2 separate regions of the Homo sapiens genome follow, and region 1 is linked to region 2. The links are contacts of gene promoters, found by promoter capture Hi-C in human tissues and cell types (Jung and others, 2019). All regions are on one chromosome and are shown on one strand. Each heading gives the region's core, a stretch centred on a gene start or on the middle of the fragment in contact. The rest is flanking DNA. Distances are from core to core; before and after follow the strand shown.

Evidence for each region. Contacts are between HindIII fragments. The study calls those that stand out against the background at their distance.
Region 1: a fragment that was not itself captured here is called in contact with the fragment with the promoter of PRPH2 in region 2 in 1 of the 25 tissues and cell types used here (H1 embryonic stem cells).

The regions. Positions count from the first base shown.
Region 1 is chr6:42,201,241-42,205,292 of GRCh38, forward strand. No RefSeq gene overlaps it. Among named protein-coding and RNA genes, the nearest start is that of GUCA1B, 8.3 kb to the left of the region's middle. The HindIII fragment of the contact is 6,721 bases long and covers 1-4,052 here.
Region 2 is chr6:42,720,049-42,724,222 of GRCh38, forward strand. PRPH2 (peripherin 2) reads right to left here and starts at 2,549. Exons shown (of 3, transcript NM_000322.5): 1 at 1,706-2,549. The coding sequence starts at 2,286. The HindIII fragment of the contact is 25,287 bases long and covers 1-4,174 here.

The DNA.
Region 1 (4,052 bases), core at 1,545-4,044, 520 kb before region 2:
CCTCCAGATGTTAACACCACTGCCTCCTCCTCAGAGAGAACTTTCCCAACTCCCCCTCAGGTAGCCACTCAAGTAATTCTGATATTATCCCATTTTATTTTCTTCACAGTACTTAATTGCATCTGAAACTATCTTATTTTTTTCTCTACTTGTCTGTCTCTCTCACTAAAGTCTATGATCTTTGAGGAGAGGGACTTCACTATATACATTCCAGAATTCCCAGCGTTTAGAACAGTACTTGGCATGTACAGGAAACTCAAATACTTGTTGAGTAACTGAGCAAGGTCCTTGGCACATGGTCAATGCTGAATTAACGTCAGCTATCACTCCTTCATTTTACAAGACAATTCCTCTTTGACTCTGTTTAGTGTCTAGATTAGCAGGTATTTGTTGAGATAAAAATGATAATGGGATTTTAGAACTGGAAAAGGCCTTGAAGATTATCTAGCCCATTAATTTCCAATTACCCATCTCAACACACTTTAAGATAACACATGCCCATCAGCAGCCGTGGCTCTGTAACAGCAGCATCTCAACTGGCTTGGTGTGAAGGTAGTATTATTCCCATCCATCTCTCTTTTTTTAGACAGGGAGACAGGGTCTTCCTCTGTCACCCAGGCTGGAGTGCAGTGGAACACTCTCGGTTCACTGCAACCTCCATCTTCCGGGTTCAAGCAATTCTTATGTCTCAGCCTCCTAAGCACCTGGAATGCCCAGCTAATTTTTGTATTTTTAGTGGAGGTGGTGTTTTGCCATGTTGGCCAGGCTCCATCCATCTCTTAACACTTATTATTTAAGCAGCATTGAAGATTGATTAAAGTACAGTATCTCTGCCCAAGTTAAGAAATTTTATGAGTGAAATATAACTTGATTTAACCTCTGGCCGAGGAATTTAAAATTCAATTGGTTTTTCATGTGGGTCAGTTGCCCATGACCTGCCCTATAAATAAATGTCGCTGAGCTACTGAGTTATAAATATATCATTTTAAAGAGGATTAGAAATCCAGCCGGGCATGGTGGCTCAAGCCAGTAATCCCAGCGCTTTGGGAGGCTGAGGTGGGCGGATCACTTGAGGTCAGGAGTTTGAGACCAGCCTGGCCAACACACCGAAACCCCATCTCTACTAAAAATACAAAAGTTAGCTGGGCGTGGTGGCGGGTGCCTGTAATCCCAGCTACTCAGGAAGCTGAGGCACGAGAATCGCCTGAACCTGGGAGGCAGAGGTTGCAGTGAGCCGAGATTGTGCCACTGCACTCCAGCCTGGGCGACAGTCAGACCCTGTCTCAAAAAATAAACAAATAAATAAATAAAAATAAAATAAATAAATAAATAGATAAATAAAATAAAGAGGATTAAGAATCCATAGAGAGAAATGAGAGCTTGAAGTGAGTAACAATAGAAAGGATTTAAGGAGGGCAGGGTTAGGAATTGAGCAGGGGATTTGGAAAGAGAGTCCTGGGGATTGCAGGCAGTCAGCCATAAGCCTGGCTCCAGGGGCAAAGATATGCTTAAAATCGACAAACCCATGTCTTCTGAGCCCTAGTCAGGCTGGACCTGAAGCCCCACTGTGAATCATCTCCATCTGAGTGTTCTTGTGACCGAGTAGGACTCCCCTTGCTGATGCCTAAACTCTTGTGTTGCCCCCTCCCTCAGGACCAGTCTGAGCAGTGGGACCACCTAAATTGTGCCGTGTATCTTGCTTCTTGCTTTAATTCATTAATTTTTCCTCCCAGTCAATCACTTTACTTCTAAGCTTTAGACCAAGCTTATCCAATTGGAGGCCCACGGGCTGCATGCGGCCCAGGACGGCTTTGAATGCAGCCCAACACAAATTGGTAAACTTTCTTAAAACATTGTGAGATTTTCTTTCATGATTTTTTTTTTAATTAGCTATTATTAGCGTTAGTGTATTTTATGTGTGGCCCAAGACAATTCTTTCAATGTGGCCCAGGGAAGCCAAAAGATTAGACACCCCTGCTTTAGAGGAAACGAGTACATTTTGGTAACGTGAGAGGTGAACAAACCTGGAATTTAGCTTTGAATATTCTGCATTTAGTATGTGGATATTTGAGTACCTCATAGCCTGCTTACAAATTAGCTTCTAGGGCTGACCCTGTCACTAACAGCTTCATCTGTAAGCTGAAAGGGTGACTGAGTGGGCAAATAACAACTCTCTAAGCCTTGGTTTTCTGTCCTGTAAAATGGGGACAATGGTAAGTACTTCAGTGTGTTAATAAAAATCAAAGGATTTTTGGTTTGTGGCTGGGCGCTGTGGCTCATGCCTATAATCCCAGCACTTTGGGAGGCTGAGGCTGGCAGATTGCTTGAGCTTACAAGTTTGAGACCAGCCTGGGCAACATGGCAAAACCCTGTTTCTACAGAAAAAAAAAAGAAAGAAAAAAAAAGAAAAATTAGCCGAGTGTGGTGATGTGTGCCTATAGTCCCAGCTACTAAGGGGGCTGAGGTAGGAGGATCATTTAAGCCCAGGAGGCGGAGGTTACAGTGAGCCAAGATTGTCACTGCACTCCAGCCTGGGTGATAGAGCCAGAACTGTCTGAAAAACAACGCTAAGGGCTGGGTGCGGTGGCTTATGCCTGTAATCCCAGCACTTTGGGAGGCCGAGGCGGGCGGATCACGAGGTCAGGAGATCGAGACCATCCTGGCTAACACAATGAAACCCCGTCTCTACTTAAAAATACAAAAAATTAGCTGGGCGTGGTGGCGGGTGCCTGTAGTCCCAGCTACTCGGGAGGCTGAGGCAGGAGAATGGAGTGAACCTGGGAGGCGGACCTTGCAGTGAGATTGTGCCACCACACTCCAGCATGGGTGATAGAGCGAGACTCCATCTCAAAAAAACAAAAACAAAAACTCTAAGGTAAATGTTATCCCTACCCTGGAGGTAACCTGAGGTCTTTTCCAGCTGGTTCTTGAACAGTATAGCACACAAGCATCTAAAGTATCATCGGAATGGTACTGCCATTTACTGAATGTCTGTTACCTGCTCAATACTGTGCAAGGTTTTTTATCAGTTATCGAATACTCCAACCTTATTAAGCTGGAGCATTAAATATATGTCAAATGTAAGTATGTAGGTATTATTTCCTACAGACTTATTATTACCTTTACTAATGAGTACACTGAGGCCCTGACAGGGTTAAATCTCTTGCCCAAGTTTACGGCAGTCAGTGGGTTTGAACTCTTATCTGACTCATGTCTGTCTGACTCCAAAGTCCATGTTTGCTCTATTCTGTCATTCATTAGTCTTGTAATAGAACTAACTTAATAATGTAATGTAAGACAGGGATGGTTGCAGACAACTAGAAATGTTAAGAAACTAGACTAATAATTTAAAATGATTGCTTTATGTATTCACTGTGGCATGTTTAAATGGTCATAGGGCCAGGAACATATGCCATTCTTTCAAAGCACTGAAACTTGGCACTTGAACTAGTTTAGTCTGTCTTACCAGAGATCTGTAGTTATACTAAGACTCTTGGATGAGAACATGATTTTATTTAATATGAAGAAAATATAGGCTGGGCATGATGGCTGATGCCTGTAATCTCAGTATTTTGGGAGGCCAAGGCCGAAGAATCACTTGAGGTCAGGAATTTGAGACCAGCCTTGGCAACAAAGTGAGACCCCCATCTCTACAAAAAGATTAAAAAATTAGCCATGTATCATGGTACATGCCTGTGGTTCCAACTACCTGGGAGGCTGAGGCAGGAGGATCATCTGAGCCCAGGAGGTCAAGGCTGCAGTGAGCTGTGTTCATGCCACTGCACTCCAGCCTGGGCGACAGAGCAGGACCCTGACTCCAAAAAATAAAAAAATGAGCTGAGTGTGGTGGTGCACACATTTAGTCTCAGCTACTTGGGAGGCTGTGGTGGGAAGATCCCTTGAGCCCATAAGTTCGATTGTGTAGTGAGCTTTGATCGTACCACTGCACTCCAGCCTGGGCAACAGAACAAGACTCTGTCTCTACAAAAAAAAAAAAAAAAAAGAAAAAGAAAAAAGATCATCTCACTTCCTACCTGCCTTCTGGTTCATTC
Region 2 (4,174 bases), core at 1,299-3,798:
ATAGAAGAATTTTTCCAAGTCAGTGGAGTTAGGAAAATTTCCCACCAACAAGTTGGTATGGGACATTGAAGGAGTTTTGATTCAGCTAAATATTTGCCTGAAATTTTGGATCCATTGACCATTGAGAGTGGAGTGACCTAGATAATTCCTTCACTCTGATACAAAAGGGGATTTGGAGTTACCGAGAGATTTGAATACATCTGTCCAAGAACTGACTCTATGCAGGAGACAATCAAGGGAAATGATAGAGGAAAAGATGAAAAGCCCCTTCTCTGTGAGCCTCTGCTCACAGAGGCTGGTTCTACCATCGGCCTCTCCCACTCCCCAGAATTCTGCTTGTCCCCCTGGCTTCATGCCCTCCTCGGGAGATTTATGTAAATCGTGGCATCTTGTGCTGCCCCTGCAGACCTGTCACCTGGGAAGGGCACAGCCCTTTACAATCCTCTCCTGACTGGGGATTTGCAGCAGTAATCTCCATCCACAAGAAAATAAAATCCCAAGAAGTGACCTTCACTTGGACGTCCCTTCCATCTGCAGGGCAGATATAAGCTAGCTATTTGGGCGTCATTAATGTTGTTTTGGGCTTCAAACATGTCCTGCTGCTGGTGCCAATGCCCTGAGTTCAAGTTCCCTTTGGACTTGCCAGCCTCACTGGGAAGAAAAAAAAACCACCCTTAGGAATAACTGAACCCCTAACCTCAGCCAGGTAGGGTCGAGTCAGACAGAAAGAAGAGGTGAGGGAAAGCGGCTGCCTCAAGGCAGGCTGCCCTTTCCCTGAAAAGTCACTCGAGCCCCAGGTTGGTGGGTGTGTTGGGAAGAGCAGCCCGCTGGAGCCAGTGCACAGGCTGTTCCCTCCGACACAGTGGTCGAGAGTCTCTCTCTCACCAGCACCTCCCACAGCCCATCGCAGCATTTTACTTTTACATATGCCAAGAATACTTTAGAAATGCTTTATCACATTGCACTATCATGACTCGCTAAGTAAACACCAGCAAGCATTTAATGAGTACCTGCTGCATGCCAGCTACCAGGCAGGGCTAGGAGGTGACTTCCAAAATTACCTATTCTATTCCAGTGCTCATTTAAAAGATGGGCAAGCCAAAGCGCAGAGTGACTAGTGACCTGCCCAAGGTCACAAGACCTTGAACAACAGAACCAAAACTTCACCCTAGATCTCATGACTTCCCCTTCCTATGCTCTTTCCAACATATCCAGACAAACATCTTGGGAATGGATGCTCAGGGTTGAAAGGTTGGAAAACAAGGGAACTAACTAGGAAATTTAAACTTCTGGGACTGAATCCATCTACTTTGAATGAATGGGACAAATAGCCAAATAGTACCTCAGTGTTTGTGATCTATGAATGACTTCCATCCCTCTGTATAAAGTGGACACACATTGCTGCCTGGCTCTTCATCCCAAGGGGCTCCTATCCAAACAGCTTATATAAATTGATACCTTCCTACCACCTTAGCCAATGTTAGGTTGAACCCTATGAAGTTGTCATTTTTTATGGGTCAAAGAGGTAGAATATTAGCAATTTCATATGGTTCCACCTGATACACCCTCACATACGCAGCAATAAGTTGTGCACCCGATGGAGAGGAAAAGGCACTGGGTGCGGGGAGAGGGGCTGGTCAGAGGCCTGAGCCTCAGTGTCCCCAATATATTCATAGCTCTGACCCCAGGACTGGAAGCCACTCACTCTTTGACTTCTTTGGAGGAAAAGTCCAGGTAGCGATTGCTGATCCACTGAATCTCAAACCAGTCCCGAAAACCGTTGTTGCCGCAGCATTTGAACTCGATCTGCAGCATGTCGATGGTCTTCTTCATGAAACACCTGCCAGGGGTGTCTGTGTCCCGGTAGTACTTCATGCCGTTCTTGAGCCCTTGGCCCAGGGTGTTCTCCAGCGAGCCCCGAAGCAGAAAGCAGCAGAGAGCCACAAGGAAGAGGATGATGTTGAAGAGAACACAGATAGCCAGGTACGGCTTCAGCCAGGGCTTCCATCTGGCATACTTGGCTGGGTCCAGGGCGTCGTAGCAGATCTTCCCAGCCAGCGAGTTGAAGACACAGGATAGCACCCCCATCCCTATCAATGAGTTGGGCACAAAATGGCTCTCAGAATTATTCATCACATCGCTCCTCTTTCGGAGTTCAATCTTCAGGAACAGTCCTAGGCTGAAGATGATGATGCCAGCCAACACGGAGAACCAGTTCATGAGCCAGAGCCCTTGGGCCAACTTGACCCGCTTCTTCTGGTCAAACTTGACTTTCAGTAGCGCCATGCTTGCCAAGTGTAGTCCGGGTTGCTTCCCACAGCACAGCTCCCACCCCAAACCTTAACGAGCCCAGAGGCGGAGACTTAGGGCCTTGGGAAAAGTGCAGATGGCCCAAGCTGTAGGGAGCTGCCCTGGGGGCTACCCATGTCGAGTCCCACTAGCCTGGGATCCCCGTGAATGCAGTAGTGGTGGCAGGGGTCTCGGAATCACAGCTTGAGCAGGGGATAGTCCTGGTCCTGGGCGTTGTTTCTTCAGCGCCCTTCCCAGCCAAGAAGGGGCAGCCTGAACGCTGCAGATTAAAAGTGGGATCCACAAGACATTTTGCTAATCTCTTTAGCCAGGTTCATCCCATTAGATAAAGCCATGCCACTCTCAAAACATGGTCAAAAGCAGCCTCCAGGTACATGCTGAACCAGAAAGCTCTGGGTACAGCTTGGAGAATCAGGAGCAAAGGGCAAGACTGGCCAGAAGAATGGGCTGTATCTGGATGTCTGGCTCAGACCGTGTTGCTCCCCAAAAGCATATTTCCAGGCCAATCTCCTTCAACATTTAAAACTTTCTGTAGGACAAATAAATTGTTATCCTCTCTGAGAAAAGAAATGACAGGGCCAGGCACAGTGGATCACGCCTATAATCCCAGCACTTTGGGAGACCAAGTTGGGTGGATCACTTGAGCCCAGGAGTTCAAGACCAGCCTGGGCTACATAGGAAGACCCCATCTCCACACACACACACACACACACAAAAAAAAAAAAAAAAAAATTAGCTGGGTATGGTGGCATGCACCTGTAGTTCTCCCAGCTACTCTGGAGGCTGAGGTGGCAAGATCACCTGAGCCTGGGGAGTTCAAGGCTGCACTGAGCCATGATCGTGCCACTGCACTCCAGCCTGGGTGACAGAGTGAGGCCCTGTCTCAAATTTTAAAAAGACAAAGAAAAGAAGAGAAGAAGGAAGGAAAGAAAGAAAGTGACAGATCGTGAGAAAACATTTGCAACTTGTAAAATTAAAAAGTAATATACAGTGGCCAGGCATGGTGGCTTATGCCTGTAATCCCAGTACTTTGGGAGGCCAAGGCAGGTGGATCGCTTGAGCCCAGGAGGTGGAGGTTGCACTGAACTGAGATCCCCACATTGCACTCCAGCCTGGGTGACAGTGAGACTCTGTCTGGAAAAAAAAAAAAAAGAATTAATATGCAAAAATGTTTTAAGTCTCACAAATTCACAATAAACAAAAATTCACAATCAAAAGACCAATAATCAACTGGAAAAATAGGCAAAAACCAGGAACAGACAATTCATAATTAGGAAACTTGAAAAGTCCAATAATCTGGAAAAGATCTCAACTTGGGTAATAAGCAGGAAAATGCAAATCCAAACAACAATAAAATACCAAACTTGGCCGGGCACAGTGGTTCACACCTGTAATCCCAGCAGTTTGGAAGGCCAAGGTGGGTGGATCACTTGAGGTCAGGCATTCAAGACCAGCCTGGCCAACATGGTGAAACCCTGTCTCTACTAAAAATACAAAAATTGTCTGGGTATGGTGACAGGCACCTGTAATCCCAGTTACTTGTGAGGCTGAGGAAGGAGCATCAATTGAACCCGGGAAGTGGAGGTTGCAGTGAGCCAAGATTGCGCCATTGCACTCCAGCCTGGGTGACAAGAGTGAAATGACGTCTCAAAAAAAGAAAAAGACCAAACTCGATCCATCAAATTGAATGTATGTCAAAATTCTGTCACCATACATCAACAAAGAGAGTGGAAGTAGAAGTGTACACTCTTGGTGAATCTGTACATTTATTATTATTATTAATTAATGGATTATTTCTTACAGTAGTTTTAGGTTTACAAAAAAATTGAACAGAAAATACAGGGAGTTCCCATTATTCTCCATC